Regions from separate parts of the Homo sapiens genome. Here region 2 is linked to region 1. Evidence: promoter capture Hi-C in human tissues and cell types (Jung and others, 2019). All regions are on one chromosome and are shown on one strand. Each heading gives the region's core, a stretch centred on a gene start or on the middle of the fragment in contact. The rest is flanking DNA. Distances are from core to core; before and after follow the strand shown.

The links. The method cuts DNA at HindIII sites, captures the fragments that hold promoters and counts their contacts. A contact is called where the count stands out against the background at its distance.
Region 2: a contact is called between a fragment that was not itself captured here and the fragment with the promoter of FANCA in region 1, in 1 of the 25 tissues and cell types used here (aorta).

What each region holds. Positions count from the first base shown.
Region 1 is chr16:89,814,754-89,818,987 of GRCh38, reverse strand. FANCA (FA complementation group A) reads left to right here and starts at 2,341. Exons shown (of 43, transcript NM_000135.4): 1 at 2,341-2,451; 2 at 3,002-3,111. The coding sequence starts at 2,373. RefSeq lists enhancers at 1,678-1,727, 2,113-2,407 and silencers at 2,268-2,557, 2,788-2,837. The HindIII fragment of the contact is 15,845 bases long and covers 1-4,234 here.
Region 2 is chr16:89,506,997-89,511,230 of GRCh38, reverse strand. It overlaps SPG7 (SPG7 matrix AAA peptidase subunit, paraplegin), which reads right to left and starts at 2,828. Exons shown (of 17, transcript NM_003119.4): 1 at 2,631-2,828; 2 at 639-741. The coding sequence starts at 2,813. LOC101927863 (a long non-coding RNA gene) reads left to right here and starts at 2,911. Exons shown (of 5, transcript NR_188547.1): 1 at 2,911-2,994. RefSeq lists silencers at 2,335-2,454, 2,485-3,044, 3,115-3,324, 3,445-3,514. The HindIII fragment of the contact is 4,518 bases long and covers 1-3,645 here.

The DNA of each region.
Region 1 (4,234 bases), core at 1,092-3,591:
GTGCCTTCCCAGACACTGGCGTTACCGCTTGACCAAGGAGCCCTCAAGCGGCCCTTATGCGGGCATGACAGAAGGTTCACCTCTTGCCTTCCACTCACTTCTCACAATGTCCTTTCAGCACCTGACCCTATACCCACCGGTTATTCCTAGGTTATATTAGTAATGCAACAAACAGTAATATTAAAAGCTAATGATTAATGTTTATAATAATTGATAATTGTCCATGATCATCTCCATAATTTGTATTATGACTGTTCTTATTGTAACGATTTTATTATACTGAAATAGTTTGTGCCTTCGGTCTCTTGCCTCGGCACCTGGGTAATTCTCCGCCCACAGGACTACAGGCTCGTGTCACCACACTGGGCAATACAAAAAATACAAAAAAAAAATTTTGTATTTTTTGTAGAGACGAGGTCTTGCCATATTGCCCAGGCTGGAATTCTTACCTTTGTTACTGTATTTAACGTATCTTTTTCCTCCGGCCATCTTCATGGTTTTCTCTCTGATTTCCACAGTTTGAATACACTGCATGTGTCAGGCAGGGGCTCATATTTATCAAGTTTTGTGTGTGCTCTGAGCTCAGGTCTTTCATTATTTTGGGAAAATTATTGGTAATTTTCTCTTCAAACATTTTTTATGATTTGTTCTTTCTTCTTCTTTTGGGAGTCCTATTACATGCATATGATATCATTTGATATTTTCCCACAGTTCTTGGATGCTTTTTTTAAAAAAAAACTTTTTTTCTTCTTTATTTTCCAACGTGGGTAATTCCTATTTTTCTCAGCTGTGTTGATCCTACTGCTGCCCCATCAGAAAAATTACCTGTTATCAGCGTTCTTCCTTTCTTATAATTTGATGAGTTTCCTCCTCATGCATATTGTTCACCTTTCGTACAAGAGACCTCCACATATTAATCACAGTTAATTTAAATTTCCAGCCTGTTTCAATTTCTCGATCACCTCTGAGTCTAGTCCTGTTAATTGCTTAGTGTTATTTTTTGTTTTTGAAACAGGGTCTTGCTCTGTTGCCCAGGCTGGAGTGCAGCGGCGCGATCTCAGGCTGTTCCCTGAGTTCACACCATCCCCCTCAACCAGCAGATTGCAAAGTGTCCGAGTCGGGCCGTGCAGGAGTCTTTGTGGGGGTTTCATGGACTCCGAATTCTCATTTCTGCTCCATCCCCATCTCATGAATCCAAGGCCCCACTCTGTGCCTCGGCTCTTCGTTTGTGGTGCTGAACGTCATCTACGTCATCTACGCCATCTACGTAATCAACACAATAAAGACGCCTGCCGGGAACGCGGCCCTTCGGCTGAATCCCTTCGGTGGTTCCAAGGCCACTGCCAGAGGATGCGGACGGGTCTCCAGGGCCTCTACTTACCCAGGACTTTGAGGCACATTAGCTTCGCCTAGGCACTCGCTTTTACGAATTCTTATGTTTGGTTTTGTTTTGAGACAGAGTCTCGCTCTGCCGCCCAGGCTGGTTAAAAGATAGGGTCTCAGCCGGGTGCGGTGGCTCACGCCTGTAATCCCAGCACTTTGGGAGGCCGAGGCGGGCGGATCACCTGAGGTCCGGAGTTCGAGACTAGCCTGGGCCAACATGGCGAAACGCTGTCTCTACTAAAAATAACAAAAATCATCCAGGCGTGGTGGCGCGCACCTGCAATCCCAGCTACTCGGGAGGCTGAGGCAGGAGAATCACCTGAACCCAGGAGGCAGACGTTGCAGTGAGCCGAGATCGCGCCACTGCACTCCAGCCTGGGCGACAGAGGGAGACTCCGTCTCAAAAAAAGGAAAAAAAAAAAAAAGAAAAGAAACAAAAGTGATGGGGTCTCGCTCTGTTGCCCAGGCTAGTCTGGAATTCCTGGGCTCAAGCGACCCTCCAGCCTCGGCCTCCCAAAGCGCTGGGAATACAGGCGCGGCTACCGCGCGGTCTCCGGCTGCCGAAACACCGCCCTGCGCGCGGACCGTTCGGCCGCCGGGAGGAACAGCGGCTGCCCGGAGCTCAGAGGCGCGCGCGGCTTTGCGCTCCCCGCGGCGCTCTGAGCCTGCCTCGGCTTGGTTGGCCAGGTGGTCTCTTCAGGACCAACCCCAGTCATTCCCGGCAGGAACCACGCTTGAGGGGCGGCAGTCTGCCCGCGCGAGACGCCCCCGCGGACTACACCGCGGCGGCAAAGCCAAACGCAAAAACTACCTCACCGCGCGCAGGCGCCTCCCCCAGGACCAACATGGCCACGACGCAAGGCCTCGACCTGAGGGGCGTGGCCTGGCCGCCGCCAGCCAACGGGTGTGCGCGCCTGGCCGCAGCCAATAGGAAGGCAGCGCGGGCTCGGGCGCAGGGAGCCGCCGCCGGGGCTGTAGGCGCCAAGGCCATGTCCGACTCGTGGGTCCCGAACTCCGCCTCGGGCCAGGACCCAGGGGGCCGCCGGAGGGCCTGGGCCGAGCTGCTGGGTAGGTGGGCGCGGCAGGCCGCGGGAGTGGGCGGCGTCCGGCCCGGGACGGTTTCGCCGGTTCCCCGATCCCTTCCCGCCAGAGCCTCCGCCGGTCGGATCCCCGGACGCCGCGCCCGGGGGGCTGTGCGGGGTGGGCGCCCGGCTGGGGCGGCGCGGCTGCCTCGGACCCGGCCCCTCCTGCGCCTGGGCGGACGCCCCCAGCCGCCGCCCGCGGGGCGCTCCCTTCTTTCCCGAACGCCGCCCCCGCCGGCCGCCCTGTCAGGCGGGCCTGGGGTGCGCGGCCTGGGGCTCCCCTCAGCGCAGAGGCCGCCCCTCGCCAGCCGTCCCCGGGCTCCCCTGCCTCGGGCCCTCCTGGGCCGTCTTCCCCGGCGTCCGCGGTGGGGCCGTCTCCGTTAGTTTCCCGAGACCTGCGCCCTGGGGAGGAGCCCCGGCCCCTCTTCGGGAGGGTGTCGCTGGTGGGTTTCTCCGCGGCGTCCACCTGCGCGTCGGGCCGGGGACCCCGTGTGTGAATTGTGCTGTGATGGTTTCGAACCGACTTCTCTCCGTAGCGGGAAGGGTCAAGAGGGAAAAATATAATCCTGAAAGGGCACAGAAATTAAAGGAATCAGCTGTGCGCCTCCTGCGAAGCCATCAGGACCTGAATGCCCTTTTGCTTGAGGTAAGAGGAAGCTGGTGTCCGTCTGCGGGCAGATTTAGGTTCGGGGTTTTTGAGTCCAGCCACCGCACAGCTTTCCTAAGAAAACACCCGAGGCGGCGGGCGCGGTGGCCTGGCCCGCAGAGGGGAGGGTCGCCTGAGCCCGGGAGTTCTGGACCAACCTGGGCAACGGGGTGAGACCCCGCCTCTTTTATTAAAAACAAAACAACAACAACAAAAAAACAGGCCGGGCGCCGTGGCTCAGGGCTGTAATCCCAGCTTTTGGGGAGGCCAAGGCGGGTGGATCACTCAGGGTCAGGAGTTCGAGACCAGCCTGGCCAACATAGTGAAACCCGGTCTCTACTGAAAATACAAAAATTAGCTGGGTGTGGTGGCGCACGCCTTTAATCCCAGCTACTCGGGAGCCTGAGGCAGGAGAATTGCTTGAACCTGGACCCGGGAGGCAGAAATTGCAGTGAGCCGAGATCACGCCCCTTGCAATCCAGTCTGGATTACAGAGTGAGACTGTCTCACAAAAAAAAAAAAAAAAAAAAAAAAAAAAAAAGCCGGGCGTGGTGGCTCACGCCTGTAATCCTAGCCCTTTGGGAGGCCGAAGTGGGTAGATCACTTGAGGTTAGGAGTTCGAGACCAGCCTGACCAACATGGTGAAACCCCGTCACTACTTAAAATACAAAAATTAGCCGGGTATGGTAGCAGGTGTCTGTAATCCCAGCTGCTCAGGAGGCTGAGGCAGGAGAATCGCTTGAACCTGGGAGGTGGAGGTCGCCGTGAGTGAGATCCCGCCATTGCACTCCAGCCTGGACGACAGTGAGACTCCCTCTCAAAAAAGAAAAAAAGGAAAATAGCCCAGTAGGGAAGCATTACTTACACACAGGTTGTGTTTATGCACAGATCTTGAATTTTTTTTATTTTTATTTTTTATTTTCATTTATTTTTTTTGAGACAAAGTCTCACACTGTAGCCTGGGCTGGTATGCAGTGGGGTGATCTCGGCTCACTGCAGCCTCCACCTCCCGGGTTTAAGTGATTCTCCCGTCTCAGCCTCCCGAGTGGCTGGGACTACAGGCACGCGCCACCATGCCCTCCTAATTTTTGTATTTTTAGTAGAGACAGGGTTTCACTATGTT
Region 2 (4,234 bases), core at 137-2,636, 310 kb after region 1:
CATTCTTGCAGCTGACTAGATAACACGAAAAACCTTTTTCAAGCAGCCCAATTACTGGAATACAGCAGAATTTTTTTTAAAAAAGGACAACTTGGCCAGATGCGGTGGCTCATGCCTGTGATCTCAACACTTTGGGAGGCCAAGGCAGGCTGATCGCTTGAGTCCAGGAGTTTAAGACCAGCCTGGGAAACGTGGCAAAACCCCATCTCCACAAAAAATACCCCCCAAAAATTAGCTAGGCGCTTTGGTGTGTGCCTGGAGTCCTGGCTCTATGGAAGGCTGAGGTGGGAGGATCACTCCAGCCTAAGAGGTCAAGGCTCTGCAACTGGGGGATAAGGGAGTAAAGAGGCCCCTTTGGGCCTGGACAACAAAGTGAGACCTTGTCTCTACAAAAAACAATTAGCCGAGTGTGACGGTACACGCCTGTAGTCCTAGCTACTCCGGAAGCAAAGTGGGGAGGATCCCTTGAGCCCAGGAGTTCTAGGCTGTAGTGAGCTCTGATCACACCATTGTACTGCACTCCAGCCCGTGCAACAGGGCGAGATCCCGTCTCTAAAATAAAAAAAGATCAGCCTCCCAAGTAGCTGAGGCGGTAAGTGTGCAGTCATGCTCAGCTGCTTCTTTAAACAGATACATACCTAAAAGTTGCCAGAGTCTGACTGGATTCTGAACTAAATGTTGTTTCAACAACAATCCGTTGATCCCTTCAAAGGTAGGGGTTAGCAGTCTCAATTGTAAGCTCTGAAAAAAAAAAAAAAACAATACTGGAGGTCACACCAACATTAGAGAGTACCAAAGCAATGCAGACTAAAAATCGTTTTTAAAAGTTCAAATATATAATTATTTGTAATATCTACATTGCCCTGAAATATAAAGTAATAGTCTGAGCAATAGGTCAAAGCTTTAGGTAACATCAAAATGTCAAAAGCAAGTAAACAGGTTAAAACACAGTAATTGGCCAGGCGTGGTGGCTCACGGCTGTAATCCCAACACTTTGGGAGGCTGAGGCGGGTGGATCACATGAAGTCAGGAGTTTGAGACCAGCCTGGCCAACATGGTGAAACCTCATCTCTACTAAAAATACAAAAATTAGCCGGGCGTGGTGGTGCACACCTGTAATCTCAGCTACTCAGGAAGCTGAGGCAGGAGAATCGCTTGAACCCGGGAGGCAGAGGTTGCAGTAAGCCGAGATAGCACCACTGCACTCCAGGCTGGGCAACAAAGGGAAACTCCATCTCAAAAAACAAACAAATAAACAAACAAAAAATCACGATAGTGGCCAGGCACGGTGGCTCATGTCTGTAATCCCAGCACTTTGGGAGGCTGAGGTGGGAGGATTGCTTGGGCCCAGGAGGCAGAGGCTTCAGGGAGCCATGATCAGGCCACTGCACTCCAGCCTGGGCGACACAGCGAGATTGTCACAAAAAAAAAAAAAAAAAAAAAAGAAGAAAACAAAACACAGAAGTACATTGGCTGCTATCCCATGGCCTGAAGCTTCTGCAGGAGAAAGGGAGCAGCCCAGCTCTCCAAAGGCCACAGTGGCTGCCCAGACACGGGGCTCCTGCTGTCACCAGAGAGTGGCTCCTTGTAGAACATTTCCAGGTACCAAACCAGTTAACAAGTATATACTTTCAGAGTTCTCCTTTCAAGATAAACATTTTCCCATTTAAATATGTTTTATGGCCGGGCGCGGTGGCTCACGCCCTGTAATCCCAGCACTTTGGGAGGCCGAGGCAGGCGGATCACAAGGTCAAGAGATGGAGACCATCCTGGCCAACATGGTGAAACCCCGTCTCTACTAAAAATACAAAAATTAGCTGGGTGTGGTGGCGCGCACCCGTAATCCCAGCTACTCAGGAGGCTGAGGCAGGAGAATCGCTTGAACCCGGGAGGCGGAGGTTGCAGTGAGCCAAGACCATTGCACTCCAGCCTGGGCGACAGAGCGAGATCTCTGTCTCAAAAATAACCGAAAAAACAACAACCTAAAAGGTGTGGGCTAAGCTCCTAGGCGAGGGCTAGGAGAAAAAAACATCAGCCCAAAAGCTGAAGGACACAAGGTCTGGTTTTCGGGAGGAGATGCTATCCTATCCTTAGCAGAACCTGAAACAAGGCCGCACTACAGGGGGTGCTCAATGACTGTATCAATAACGTGCCGAGCTACATGACAACAGCAAAATGCAGCTACAGGGTATTTTGCGGACACAGAAACGTTCTGGGCCCCCTACTCGGCAATAACCACCCTAACTGGAAGGCGCTGGAATTCCTGGTGACGGAATCGATCCACAGGCGTGGACTGTAAATTAGTGCTACGCCGGAAACCGTTACTGGATTCCACTTTAAAAGGCGAGGAAGACGGGCGGAGAACATCCACACACAACAGACGGGTTGGGAAAGTCCACGCCGAGGACTGCGCGGATCCCAGCCCTGCCTCTTCCCGGCCCGCCCAGCGCCCACGATCCAGGGCCCCAACAGTCGCTCCGCGCCGAGGTCCACAGCTGGGGGATCCGCGGGCCCACAGGCGCAGGCTCCCCCGCCGCAGGGGCCAGGCGGCCTCCGACCCGCCCCGCCGGGCTGGGCCTTACAGAGCAGAGCCGGGCGGGAGGTGGGGCCCGGACTCCGCGGGGATTTACCTGCAGAGCTCGGCCTCCAGCCTCGGCGAGGTCCCCCGGAGGCCTGCTGGCCATGTACGGCCGCCCCCTCCCGGGCCTGGCGGGGAACCCTGGACTCCAGGCCGGGCCTGGGCCCCACAGCGGCCGAGGACCCGGGCCTGGACCCCGGCGGAGGGCACGGAGCAGCAGCAGCAGCACGGCCATGTTGGCCTGAAAGCCGCGCCTGCGTGATCCGCGGGGCGCTACACGGCGCCTGCGCGGCGGGGTGGGCGGGGTCTGACGTGGCGCCTGCGCGGTCCCCACAGCTGCGCCCCGCCGCGCCCGGGTGCCGCTTGCCGCACCCCCGAGCCTGAGCCCGTCTACCTCGTGGCTGCCTGAGGCCCGGGTATGGGGGCGCGCGTCTGCGAGGAGGTCGCGGGTGCCCTGGTTTTTTTGAAGCCGGCCTTGTATTCCCAGGGCCTGGCGGGTGAATAACCGGCCGGGTCGTGGCTGCGTGGTCGTGCTCCGCCCGCGCCGAGGGGCCTCACGCCCGGGCAGCCTGCGTCACCCGCAGGGTTCGGTCACAGGCGAGGGCGGATGGTGCGGGCCGGAATCCCGCCTGCGAGTAGAGGCCCGCGCTCAGGAGGGCGGCGCCGGAGGCCTCGGGTCGGGAGGGCCCCTTCGGGTGTGAGGAGCGCAGGAAGGGGGCGGTTTTCCTGCGTCTTGAGCCGCCCGAGGACGAGGACTGAAGTTGCAGCCGCCGCAGGGAGGGCAGCCCCGGAGGAGGAGGGTCGTGAGGGAGGGAGCGCGCAGTGCGGCGCGGCCTGGCAGGCGTCTGCAGAGCTCGTCCCGCACACCTCTGACTTCGGAGCGCTCCGTCCTGTGCCTTCGGACTGGCTCACCTCGGAGGCGCTTCGAGCCTCGGTCCTGCCCCGGCCGCTGCGCGAGCCCATCGTAGGAAGCGGGGAGGCGCCGTCTGGAAGCTTAGGAAGAGGCTCTGTTCTCTTCAGGGTCCGCCCTCCGGGCCCGGGCAGGGTCCCTCGTGGGCTCCCAGGCGCGCGGGGTCCTCCGCCACCCCGACCCCTTCCTCCGTCCGCCTTAGGTCTAGAGCTGACGCCAAGAGCTGGAAAGCTTGTTGAGTAGGAAAAGCAAAGACTAGATGGTCTGTCACAGAGGTAGGATGAGGGTGACCTATTTATTTTTATGCTTTTCTGTACTCCGCAAATTCGTAACAGTGAATGCCAGTGACGACAGCCAACATCACCGAGTGCCTAGCTCCGTGTCGAACACCCATGTAATATTCACAACCCTGTGCAGCGAATACAATACCTCTATTTTACATGTAAAGAAAGATTCAGAAGTATTAAAAGTAACCTGCCTAGGATTACAGCTCTGAAGTTAGGGCAGAATTTCAAGGCCGGTCTGGTTTGTTTCTGGACCTGCACTCACTCCACCACTACAGACGAGGTTGCAAAGCCAGTGGGCTGCGTGTAATCCTCCCTCTTCCTCAGCCCCGAGACGCTCAGGAAAGTGTTTTCAGTTATCGTGGTTATCCGCCCTCAGCCCTCCAGTGGGCCGGGTGCCTCGGCAGAGGTGCTCGGGGCTGGGGAGGTGTTCTGTTGGTTTGTGGAGAGGACCTTCCCCTA